2 separate regions of the Homo sapiens genome follow, and region 1 is linked to region 2. The links are contacts of gene promoters, found by promoter capture Hi-C in blood cells and fetal thymus (Javierre and others, 2016). All regions are on one chromosome and are shown on one strand. Each heading gives the region's core, a stretch centred on a gene start or on the middle of the fragment in contact. The rest is flanking DNA. Distances are from core to core; before and after follow the strand shown. Region 1 overlaps DIRC3 (disrupted in renal carcinoma 3). Region 2 holds the start of LINC01280 (long intergenic non-protein coding RNA 1280).

Region 1 (6,649 bases), core at 1,285-3,784, 1.1 Mb after region 2:
GAGAGGGAAAGCAGCTTAACTTTGGTGATGTTTTGTATTGGCCTCCACACATGAATTCTGTTCTAAGTGGTTTATCTCAAATCCTCTGGGTAAGGCACTATTGTAACCCCATTTTATAGAGCCATCCTCTGGGTGGCTCTGTGCTGCTCCTCTTGGCCCAGAGTTTCTCAAATGTCCCGTTCAAGCCTGGGACATTTGTCATGAGCACGGCTTTAGAAATTCTGGACAGGAGGACCTCTAAGACTAATTAGATGCTTTCCTCACACTGAGACAAGTCCCATGAAATTAGAGAGGGAGGGGAGGGGAAGAGAGAGAGAGAGACCGAGAGAGAAACAGAGCAAGAGAGACACACATCAAGAGAGACACACAGACATAGAGAGAGAGACACAGAGAGTGATGCAGAGAGACACTGAGAGACACATACAGAGACATGCTGAGAGGGAGACTGAGAGGAACAGAGACTGAGACAGAGAGAGACACTGAGAGACAGAGACATGAGAGAGACACTGAGAGACAGAAACACTGAGAGACAGAAACACTGAGACACAGAAACACTGAGAGACAGAGACAACATGAGAGAGACACTGAGACCCAGGGACACTGAGACACAGAGACACGGAGAGACAGAGACACTGAGAGCCAGGGACACTGAGATACAGAGACACTGAGAGACAGAGACTCTGAGACACAGAGACACTGAGACATACACACAGAGAGAAGGCAGCAGGGAGAGGAGTGTAGCCATGGTTGTGAGGAGAACCTGCTGAGATGAGCTTTGTGAGTGAGCCTGTGCTTTTGGAGGGGAGATGAAGGCGGCTTGGGTTAGGGGATCTCAAACCCACCTGGGCAAAGCCAGACCCCCCTTGGAATGGGTTTCCATTCACAAGTTGAGGAGGGCAATGCCTGCGCCAGTGAAAGAGGAACTCTCACGGAGGAAACAGGCAGATCCTCATCACCCTTCAGCTCCTCATGGGCAGCTCCTCATGGGCAGCTCCTCATGGGCAGCTCCTCATGGGCAGCTCCTCATGGGCAGCTCCTCATGGGCAGCTTGGCCTGAGTGAGGAGGACCCCCGAGTCCACCTGGGAAATCTCGGCCACCTGCTGGAGGGGGCAGCTTTAGGGCTTCAGGGCTAAAGAAGTAGGATAACTAGGGCCAGGATTGTAGGGAGAAGGGAGCGCATGCTCAGTGACAGACCCAGGCTGAGTGTGAACGACCCAATCCCCTCCACACAGCCCTTTTCCCCAAATCACTCACATGCCTGCCCCCATCAGCCCTGAACACCCAACCCCAGCCTGCACAGAAGACCTGCAGCCTGGAAGCAGGCAGGCTCGGAGCCCTGCAAGGGTTGGGGGTTGGCTCTGTCCATCTTTGGATCCCCACCCCCAGCCCTGTCCAAGACATTTGTCCTCAAAGGAGCTTTATTTGGTCTTCTCTCCATTTTTGTGCAAGCCTAGTGAGAAGCCATGGCCAGCAAGAGGAAGCAACAGCCACCTGCTTGGAACTCATTTGAGAGGGGCTGAAATAGGCCACCTGTTCCCAGGCTTCCCTCCCACGCAGTAGGTCACAGAGTCTGGCCACTAGGAGAAGGTCCGAGAATGTTAAGGTTTGAAGAGACCTAAGAGCCTAACCTTCCAGCGGAAGCCTCTGTCCCTCCAGGCTGGGGCAAAGAGGGCTGACCCCAGGTGGCAGCACGCGGGTCACATTTGATTCACATGATTTGGCCTCTGGTGAGCCTAAGCGCTGTGGAGCAAGGGGTGGGAGTTCCCACTCAGGAGTAAGACTGCCGGGATCTAAATCCCGGTTCTGCCACTTCCTATCTGAAAAACACATGCCTCAGTTTCCTTCTCTATGAAACACAGCCCCATCGCCAGGCTGAGTGCAGACTCTTTGGGGCAGATCCTTCACCAGCCCATTTTGCAGATGAGGAAACTGAGGTGAATGAGCCGGCACTGTGACCCCACGTGCTTCATTCTAAGCATAGAGATCTTGCCGCTTCAGCAAGCCAACTTCCTTCCCCAGGGAAGGCTGGGAAACAGTAACTGGAGAAGGGGGCAGGAGGGTCTCTGCCTGGGTGCAAGGCTCAAGGCTGGCCAGTCCTGCCATTCTTCTTGCCTCTGGTTTTTCCGAATTCTGCCTCTCCCTCTGGAAAGCCATTGCAGGCAGGGCACTCCCAAGCCTCGTTTACAAAATTATAAGCTTCCTTTGTCCCCAGTCTCCTCTGGTTACAATAACACTCATCAGCTCTCCAGAGCTTTCAGGGGCATGGAAAATGTGACTTCACTCCTCAAGGATTTCTGATTTAACAAAATGGCATTGGGGAAAGAAAATGAAAAAGAATGTCTCTGTCCATCCCTGATAGAAAAGGCAATAGGGCTCCAGCCTCCCAGCCCAGAGTCAAGAGCCAAGAGCTCCCAGAGGGTCCAGAAGGCACAGACAGGGGACCCTCAATCCCCCTTGGACCCCACAGACTGGAAATCAGCCTCTCTGGGTGGGGCCTAAGGGGAAAAGGGAGGGAAAGGGTCACTGAAGACAGGTGCCAAAGGCAGGAAATAAATACATCCTGTCTTGCCATTCCCCAATTTGACAACTTTATTATTCCTGTCCTTCTTTATTCAGTCAGTCCATCAGTCACTTGTCCTAAGTGCTTAAAATGAGTGACTCTGGTGTCCAACCACCTGGGATAGTATTCTGGCTCTGCCATCTTTCCAAGCCTCAGTTTTCTCATCTGCAAAATAGAGACAATGTAGTCTGGACTTTATAGAGCTGCTGTGAAAACTAATGAGATACCATGCTAAGGGCTTCACACCATGCCAGCAGATCAGAAGCTCTCAAGACATGGTAGCTCTTGGTGCTGTCACTCATGGGAATTGCAAAGCTTTGTCAAGCAGAGCAATGTGTCTGAGGCTGGACTGTTGGGAGTACCCATCTCATGGCACCTGCAGTCTAGAGACCCAGCCCTGGAGGCTCCTAGCTGGCCCATTACTTTAAGTCCTGAACACCAGGGCTAGTCTAATAGGTAGACTGGCAGGGTAAGGAGAAGGGCTTAGTGAGTGCTTGCTGCATACAAGACGCTGTGCAGGTGCTAAGGAAAATTCAGAAATAGCAACTATAAATCAAACTCCACGATTTCAGGTATATGAGAAATATAATTTTCAAAAAAATTATTTAAGTCAAGTTAAATCCATCTCTGAGCCCCCATCCCACCTGAGACAGCAAATTTTGTCCTGGTCATTAATGGAACCCGCCCATCCTCTCTCTCACCAGCATCACTGGAAGGGGTGCATGCGTGGTCACTGGCCATTTGTCCCCACTGGTTACACTGAGATAACTGATGCAAGGCCACACAGTACCCAGGAGCCCAGGGGCTCTGCTGCTTCTGTGCCAAACAGTGCCAGAGAAAGCTAGTCACAGACACATCACACTGTCAGCCCACTCTGAGGTCCTGCCCACCCTGGGCATTGACAGGGAAAAGGGTGCTCTGCCTCCGGGACTCTTCCCTCAAAGGCACTCACATCTCAAAGAACTCAGGCTCCCAGAAAGGAAGAAAAAAGAAAAGAAAGCAATTCCTACTCCCTGGCCTGCAGCAGCAAGTCTCCCAAAGCAGGGATCTCAAAGGAGCAGGCTGTTTACATGGGGGGAGTTGGGGGCAGTAGAGACAAAAATATAAGGATAACAGAAAATGAATCGTCGTATCTCAGAGACGGCCCCTCTAAAGAGGTGACTTCCAGGGGCTCCCAACAAGACACCTGCACCCCCTCCACCTTCTACCCCTACCCCATCACCCGCAGGCAGAGGAAGCAGCAAACCACATAGTGACATTTCAGGACTAACAAAAAGCCCTCCAGGAAGTAAATCAATCTCCCCCAAGCTTCCTGAACACCTACACTCTCCTTCATCTAAGGCAGATGTCCTGAAGAGGTCTCTGCTGAAAGGGATCAGTTGACTTATCACTGTCACCTTGCTGAGGCCAGGGCAACAGGGAAGATAAGTGTTGACTGGGAAGCAATACTTATCCAAGAAAGAAATGGGTATTTAATACCTACTAGGTACCACCAGGTGATTTCACAAACAACCTACCTGTTCATCACAACCACGCAAAATGAGTGCTTCATTCCCCGTTATTGATGAGGAAACAAAGGTCCTGAGAGAGGGGCCAAGGTCACAGAGCTGTATTATGACAAAGCTGGGAACACTCAGCCAATATTTAATAATAATACTATCACTTAGGGTACTATTATCATTCCCATTTTACAGAAGAGACTCTGAGGCACAGCAATTAAATTACCTGTAAGGGCCAAGAAGGGTGCCCCTGAGGCCTGGGCTGTTGATCCCCTCATTTTTCTGCCTCTGCATGAGAAGCAACTGGTTGGAAAGTCCCACCAGTTCTGAGAATTCATGTTCTGCCCGGATTCCTGCAAATGAGTAGGGAAGCACGACCAAGGATTCTGGTAGCTTTGCATAGGACTTAAAGACTCACATTATTTTGAAATACAGTTTTGTAAAAAATAAAAATACAAATATTTAGAAACCAATTAAAGAGTATTGCTTTGGGGAGCAAAAGACAAAAACCCCCCGTGCCTCACTGTCTCCTCCCACTCACCCCCCGCATCAATTCAATGGCCTGGAATCCCTGCCTCTTCTGTTCAATAAACAGAGATGGCTCTAAAGAGAGGACCCAATGTGCTGAGCAGTCTTGGATAAAGAACACCGACAGTCAGAGATGGAAAGATACCTTCGTCGGACAGATGAGAAAACTGAGGTCCGCATGACGGAGCGACTTGCCCAGGGTCAGGCACCTGCGTAGGCACCTGGACACATATGCGTGTGCACGCACGCAAGGCCGCGCACGCTGGGCTCTGGCCGGCACGGCCCTCACGTGCCCTCACGCACGTATGCCCCGCATGGGTTCCCCCAGCGAGCTATCCCTGCGCCCACCCCTTCCCCTGCCCGGGCCTCCGGAGCTGCTCACACGCAGGTGAAGACTGCCCCCTGGTGGGCGGGAGCCCTCGGGAGGCCCGCAGGCCCAGCGTCCTGCGCCCGTAATCCCTCAAAGGGGCTTCTCTGGAATCACCCCCAGGCCCTGGGGCCAGGATCGAGGCTGCTCTGGGAACTGGGCTTACACGGGTGTGGGTGGGGACCTCTGGGATCTTAGAACCAGGAAAATAATAAAGCAGAGGCTTGATGTTGCAAGTTTAGTTCCTGGAAGCTGATTGAAATGGAGATGAGCAACAGGAAAGTTTTTTGGGGGGGGTTTCTAGAGATCAACACCTCTTCCAAGGAAGGGACACAACCAGGGCTGGGCAGAGAACGTGGGCTGCAGCACAGTCACCTGAAGGCCGGGAGCATGGAAGTTAGGTTGGCCCTCTGGGACTAACAGGTTTAGCAAACAAAAATACAGGATGCCCAGTTAAATTTGAATTTCAGATACATGTGAAAGTTTTTTGTATAAATATGTTCCGTGCAAGGAGAGGAGAGTGTCTGTGCAAAAGGGTGGGAGTTGGGGGGTTGTGGTGATGGAGACTGCTTACATATAGAGAGATGGAACAAAACAGGTAAAACAGTCACCCACCACATTCGTGGTTTCTGTGGATTAAACCAACTGTGGATTGAAAATATTGGGGGAAAAATGGCTGGTTACAACTGTACCAAACATGTACAGGCTTTTTTTTCTTGTCATTATTTCCTAAACAATATAGTATGACAATTATTTATGTAGCATTTACATTGTGTTTTGTATTACAAGTAACCTAGAGGTTACAGGAGGATGTGTGTAGGTTACAGGAGGATGTGTGTAAGTTACATGCAAATACTATACCGTTTTACATAAGGTATTTGAGCATCCATGGATTTTGGCATCTGAGGGAGTTCTGGAACAAATCCCCCATGGATACTGAGGGACAACTGTACTAGGGATAATAGGAGCCACGTTTCTCATTACTGGAAATGAGAGTAGGAAATATGGAAAAAAGAAAAGAAGAATAAACCCAGTGGAATTAGAGATATTGGTGTGAGCTCAGTTTGCAATATGTAGAGGTATAAAAATACAGATATAAATGCATGAAGGACTATATGGACTGTATGTTTGTATGTAGAACTATTGTGGACTGCATATTTATATCCCTCTCCCAAATTCATATATTTAAACCCTAACCCCCAACGGCATAATATTAGGAAGTTGAGCATTTGGAAGGCAGTTAGATTTAGATGAGGTTATGAGGGTAGAGATCCCCATGATTGGACTGTGTCTTTTAATAAGACAGAGAGACTAGAGCTTGTTGTCTCTACTATGTGGGGATACAGTGAGAAGATGGTCATCTGCAAACCAGGAAGTGGGCCTTCACCAGACATGGACTCTGCACCCTGATCTTGGACTTCCCAGACTCCAGAATTGTAAGAAATGCATTTCTGTTGTTTAAGCCACCTAGTCTACGGTATCTTGTTATAGAAGCCCAGACTGACTAAGAAAATGACTCTAGATATAAAGTTGGAATGTGTGTGTGTATAGTTTGCTTGTATGTATGTATATCTATATCTACATATGTAGATATATGAGGATATATGTAGAGATACATATATTCTCTTTTTTTTATTATTATTATACTTTAAGTTTTAGGGTACATGTGCACAATGTGCGGGTTAGTTACATAT
Region 2 (5,914 bases), core at 1,124-3,623:
GTATACATTCATCCAGTCATTCATTTGGAGCTTTGAGCTTGGTGCTCCAGAGTGACAAATGACTGATGGTAGCTCCTGCCACTTGGATAGCTGTCAGCAGTAAGAGGGAAGCAGATCTGGAACACAGAAGTACTGACATCACAGAACCTGAGGAATCACAGAGTGGGGGCAGAGATCATCAAGGCCACCCCTCACTTCACAGATGGGAAACTGAGGCCCCAGGACCCCCAGAGCTAGAGGCTGAACCTGGCATGAACCCAAGAGCTCTAGGCAACCAAATCTGTTCTCTTCCCTTCAAGGGCCTCCCTGCAGGATTATGAGAAGCCAAGATGGTAAAGAGATATTTGTAGTTGCCATCTGGAGATTCTTTTGGGCAACATCATGATCTCCTGGAAAGAGAGGTGAGCAAATGCCCAGTTCTGCCCTGCTGTTCCTCAGCACCTGGCACCATGCCGGACACTAGCTACCTTCTGTGAGCATCACTTATACTGTCCATTTTCTTTTGGTCATGTGCACCCTCATCACTGCTCTGCTAGACTCTTCTTACATTTACCATTTCATCTTATATTTTAGTTAATTCTCATTGCATTTGAAATCTTCCCAACAGACTAGATCCATAAGTACGTTAAGAATGTGGAATGTGTCTGCCTTCTATACTACCATCTACTCAATTGCCGTGGACCATGCCTATCTCATAAGCAGATGCTGAATAAATGAATAAATGAATGGGCATTGGGGAACCATATCCTGAACTTCCCAACTGAAGCACTTCTCCTGGATTCCTAGTGGGCAGCTTTGTACATAGAAGTTGCTCCACACATGAGTTCATGTCCTTCATCCTTGGCAGCAAGCAGTAACTACTTATCCATGGATCAGGGTAGGGAGAACAAGAACCTCAGGGATAACACCACTGAACCTGCAGCTTCATTTCAGCCTGCAGAGAAAATACAACTGTGGCTATTGAGCCAGGCAGGTCAAGCCTTCCTGGGTCATCTAAAATGACTGCATGCTTGCTCTTCAGTCCTTTCCTTGCACCTGCATTTCTGAGGTGCCTTTGCCCTCTGGCTTCCAGGTAGCTGTGGCTGATTGGAGGAACTGGTAAATCACTGGAGGGCCACCAGAAGGAGGGGAGAAGCCGGCCATTCCTCCTTCTCCAGTCCCTCTACTTCCTGCCTTCTTGGGCAGCAGTTGACTCCTGTGTGGCCGCAGCTCCCTTGGGGGCAGCCCCCACCATCATTCTAGTACCTGCTAGATGTACAGTACTAAATTTTTAAAATAAAATACAGGCCACCAGTTAAATGTGAATTGCAGATAAACTGGATACTTTTTTTTTGGAGATGGAGTCTCACTCTGTCGCCCAGGCTGGAGTGCAGTAGAGCGATCTCGGCTCACTGCAACCTCTGCTTCCCAGATTCAAGCGATTCTCCTGTCTCAGCCTCCCTAGTAGCTGGGACAACAGGCGTGTGCCATCACACCTGGCTAATTTTTTGTATTTTTAGTAGAGACAGGGTTTCACAATGTTGGCCAGGCTAGTCTCGAACTCCTAACCTCAGGAGATCCACCCGCCTCTGCCTCCCAAAGTGCTGGGATTACAGGCGTGAGTCACCGTGCCTGGTCCAACTGGATACATTTTTATATTACATTTTTGATTATGATAAAGTACACATAACATAAATCTTACCATTTTAACCTTTTTAAAGTATACAATTCTGTGGCATTTAATGCACTCTATACTGACTTAAAATACTAGCAATTATTTGTTATTTATTTGAAATTCAGATTTAACTAGTGTTAAATACAATAACTGTTATTGTTAATACAATTGTAGTAGGGAATTGTATTGTATTGTAATAGGGTGACCGTTGCTCCTGGGCTCTGAAAAAGCACCTCTTGTTGTCACCCCTCCAGTCCAAGGAGGTTTTTCTAGCACCTCTGTAACCAATTACCTTCATTAAAGTCTCTGAATAAGACTTAGCGAACTCCCTCCCTCCTGCTTCCCTGGCTGGACCTTGACTGTACAAACAATGAGAAGTACCCACCCTCCAATCACCAAGAGTCCAGATATCACAATAAGGTCCCGGAGTGAGCTCCCATGTGCTTCCCTCCCGCCCAGCCTGCTCCATCATCAACCCCCTTCCTCATCAGCTCTCAATCCTCCCCAACTCCAGAAAGCAGGCCAGGTGTCTCTGTAATTCTCAGGTGCACCCCCACCCCCTGCCTGGGGTGATTGGTTCCATGTGTCTGTCTGCGGGGCCACCCGGCCCCCTCCTGGCCCCCCTTACCCGCCTTCCGCCCACCTGCCTTCCTTCCTCACAGCTTCGCTCTCGCCTCGCTGAGCCCTTCCTGTCGCACGTCTGACACGTCCCCTGCGTCTGCGGGCTCTCCTGCTCCCTCCCTGCCCTCTTTCAGACAAGACAAAGAAAAGAAAAGGGTGGCTCTTGTTGCATTCACTACTTTTATTAATGAATGCAAGAACAAAATCAGCTGGCCCTGCAGACGTCCTGCTGAACTGGGGTGCTGTAAAAGGAGATGGAATCCTAGCATTTTGGTTTTGAAAGGGACTTGAGGGGCGAATTAATCTCATTCCTGTACAATACGGGGTGCCTCTCCCAAAATCACGAAAACCAGAAACGCGGCAGGAGAGTCATGAACCCATGGAGGTGAACAGTTCAGCTGCTGGAATATAGACAAGTGGTTCCCAAAAGTACTTTACATCCTGAGAGCCTGAGTGTGTAGTGAGATGGATTGGCACAGCGCTACGCCAGGTGCGTGTGGCCTGTGCTGCTGGGGCAGTGTGTGTTGCTGCACCACAACGTGATAGCGATAGAGACGGAGAACACTCAGAAACTTCGGGAACTATTTGACATCTCTGCACCTTCCAACGCCTAATCGTTTTGCTAGTCATTCACTTTATGATTGTATTAAGTGTCAGTCTGTGATGAACTAAGGTGCAAAAACGGGTGCTTTGCCAGAGGTGATTTGAAAAGCACTCTTTCGGAGCCACACTCAGGAGTTGGGTCCAGTTTTGGAAAGAGGATAAATGTCTGGAGGCAAGTGACTTAACCTCTATGGATCTGAGTTTCTCCTCTGTAATATGGGGACAATCTTGACTCCTACCTCATGGGACTGTTGCAAGAATTCTACAAGTACATGACATAAGCACCGTGGGGCACCAGGCACACAGTGGGGAGGGTGTGTGATTATTTGTAGACGCTTCTTGACTTGAGTTGACCAAACCACCAAGATCATTGTCCACTGACTCTCTTTCTGGGAATCTCTGAGGACGTAGCTTCTATTCCCACTCTTTGATGGCTGTTATAATAATTACTGATCTTAAAGTTCGCTTCTTTCCATGGTGACATTTCCATCCCATCCTCTGTCTTGACTCACGGGACCTACAAGATGAAACCTGGGATCTCTGCATTGGACCCGAGCACTGGGTCCACCCTGAGGCCCCCTTGGAGCTGATGAGGGAAGCCAAGGGCAGTTATGGGGGTCTGAAGAGAAGGTGTTAAGCCATGAGAGGGAAAGGCCACAAAACCAGAATCACAAAATAGGCACTAAAATCGGGACTCCACAAGGGCAGCAGAAGGCAGACCATTAGAAAGAAATGTGGGACAGTGGGGCGTCATTGTGTTACTGTAAAGGAGTCCCAATCCAGACCTCAACAGAGGGTTCTTGGATCTCATGCAAGAAAGAATTCAGGGTGAGTCCATAGAGTAAAATGAAAGCAAGTTTATTAGAGAAGTAAGAAACAAAAGAATGGCTACTCCATAGGCAGAGTAGCCGCAAGGGCTGCTGGTTGGCTATTTTTATGATTATTTCTTGATCATATGCTAAACAAGGGGTGGATTGTTTATGAGTTTTCTGGGAAAGGTGGGCAATTCCTGAAACTGAGGATTCCTCCCCTTTTTAGACCAAATAGAGTAACTTCCACATATAATGAGCAGTGAGGACAACCATAGGTCACTTTCCTTGCCATCTTGGATTCAGTGGGTTTTGGCTGGCTTCTTTACAGCATCCTGTTTTATCAGTGGGGTCTTTATAACCTGTATCTTGTGATACCAGTCCTGTCAACCTCCTATCTCATCCTGTGACTAAGAATGCCTAACCTCTTGAGACCTCTCAGTAGGTCTCAGCATTATTTTACCCAGCCCCCACTCAAGATGGAGTCACTCTTGTTCGAATGCCTCTGACAATTGCAGCAAGCTTTTGGCTTATTCATAGCATCCTTTTTTAAAAAAAAAAATATGTTTATTTATTGATTTTTTTGAGATGGAATCTTGCTCTGTCACCCAGGCTGGAGCACAGTGGCGCAATCTCGGCTCACTGCAACCTCCACCTCCCGGGTTCAAACGATTCTCCTGCCTCAGCCTCCCGAGTAGCTGGGATTATAGGCATGTGCCACCTCACCCTGCTAATTTTTGTATTTTTAGTAGAGATGGGGTTTTGCCATGTTGGCCAGGCTGGTTTCAAACTCCTGACCTTGGGTCATCTGCCTGCCTCGGCCTCCCAAAGTGCTAGTATTACAGGCATGAGCCACCACACCTGGGCTACAGCATCCTTTAAAGTGTAGGACATGCTCCTTCCTGATATGCTTCTGGAAAGCTGAAGATGTTCTCTGATGTCTGATAACCACTATTCACACCTTAACACATCTCCCTCACTCTAGGAGGGGATGTTGTTGCAGACCCTGTCACGTGGTGGACAGCAGACAACACCACACTTTGTCAGCCGGTAGGCAGCTGTGGTTCTGGTTGCACTGGTGTGCCCTGCCTGTGTCTCCCTTTCCTTCGTATACCTCTACTGTTAAAAAAAGGTCTATGCCAGAGGACTCAGTACCAATCCTATATTCACATCTAGCTTATCAGCATGCTGGGTGTGCTTTGTACTACGTTTTTCTTTTCTTTTTTGAATTTCGAATTACTTGCCAAGACTTTCAAATTGAGAGAATTCATGGAAAAGTCTGAGAACTAATTTTGCTTTGAAATGAGCCCCTTTAGCTACCTTGGACCTTCATTCCTGCCAGGCCACAATCAGCTGGAGCTGAGTGGCAGCTGACCCCTTCAGAGGCACAAGAGCTCTCCCCTTGGCACAGTCCCCACCATTCCTGATGGTCAAGAAGCATCTATGTACGAATCCTCACAGCTCTCTGCTTATCTAACTGATTAATGTTCCCTTTCTGGTACATATAGACATCTGAGTTTGCAAACCCTTGTCTAAATTTTGGACTCTTAAGAAGTCCCTAGAGCCAGGCGCAGTGGCTCACGCCTGTAATCCCAACACTTTGGGAAGCCGAGGCAGGTGGATCACCTGAGGTCAGGAGTTCAAGACCAGCTGGCCAACATGGTGAAACACCATCTCTACTAAAAATACAAAAATTAGCTGGGTGTGGTGGCGGGCGCCTGTAATCCCAGCTACTCAGGAGGCTGAGGCAGGAATATCGCTTGACCCCAGGAGGCAGAGATTGCAGTAAGCTGAGATCGTGCCATCGCACTCCAGCCTGGGTGACAATAGTGAAACTCCATCTCAAAAAAAAAAAAAGAAAAAAAGTCCCTAACACAATTCTTCTCTTAACTGGCTGTTGGGATATGCTTTTTTTCATTTCCATCCTCTACTTCAGCCCCTACTCCATTCCTCTGCCCCAATCTCAGCTCAGCTGGCATTAGCATCTGCCCAACATTTTTCTTTTCTTTTCTTTCTTTCTTTTTTTTTTTTTTTTGAAAGAAAGGCAATTTTATTTCAAAAAAAAAAAAAAGTGTGCTCTGGGAACAGGGTTAGTCCATTTGGGCCTTCAGTGTCCTGGTGGTGATTTTGTCCTTCTTGGTGATGTGGATGATGACTCCCATGCCTGACCCTGCACCCCAGTCCACAGCATTCAGCATGGCTGGGGAGATGGTTTCAAACGGGTGTT

The links. Contacts are between HindIII fragments. The CHiCAGO score rates a contact against its expected background, and 5 or more counts as called.
Region 1: a contact is called between a fragment that was not itself captured here and the fragment with the promoter of LINC01280 in region 2, in 1 of 17 cell types (fetal thymus). The highest score is 5.7, in fetal thymus.

What each region holds. Positions count from the first base shown.
Region 1 is chr2:217,751,735-217,758,383 of GRCh38, forward strand. The region is part of intron 2 of DIRC3 (disrupted in renal carcinoma 3); the gene reads right to left. Among named protein-coding and RNA genes, the nearest start is that of DIRC3, 35 kb to the right of the region's middle. RefSeq lists a silencer at 4,913-5,082. The HindIII fragment of the contact is 679 bases long and covers 2,196-2,874 here.
Region 2 is chr2:216,604,565-216,610,478 of GRCh38, forward strand. It overlaps LINC01280 (long intergenic non-protein coding RNA 1280), which reads right to left and starts at 2,374. Exons shown (of 4, transcript NR_110392.1): 1 at 2,298-2,374. It also overlaps the pseudogene PSMB3P2. The HindIII fragment of the contact is 10,190 bases long and covers 1-4,207 here.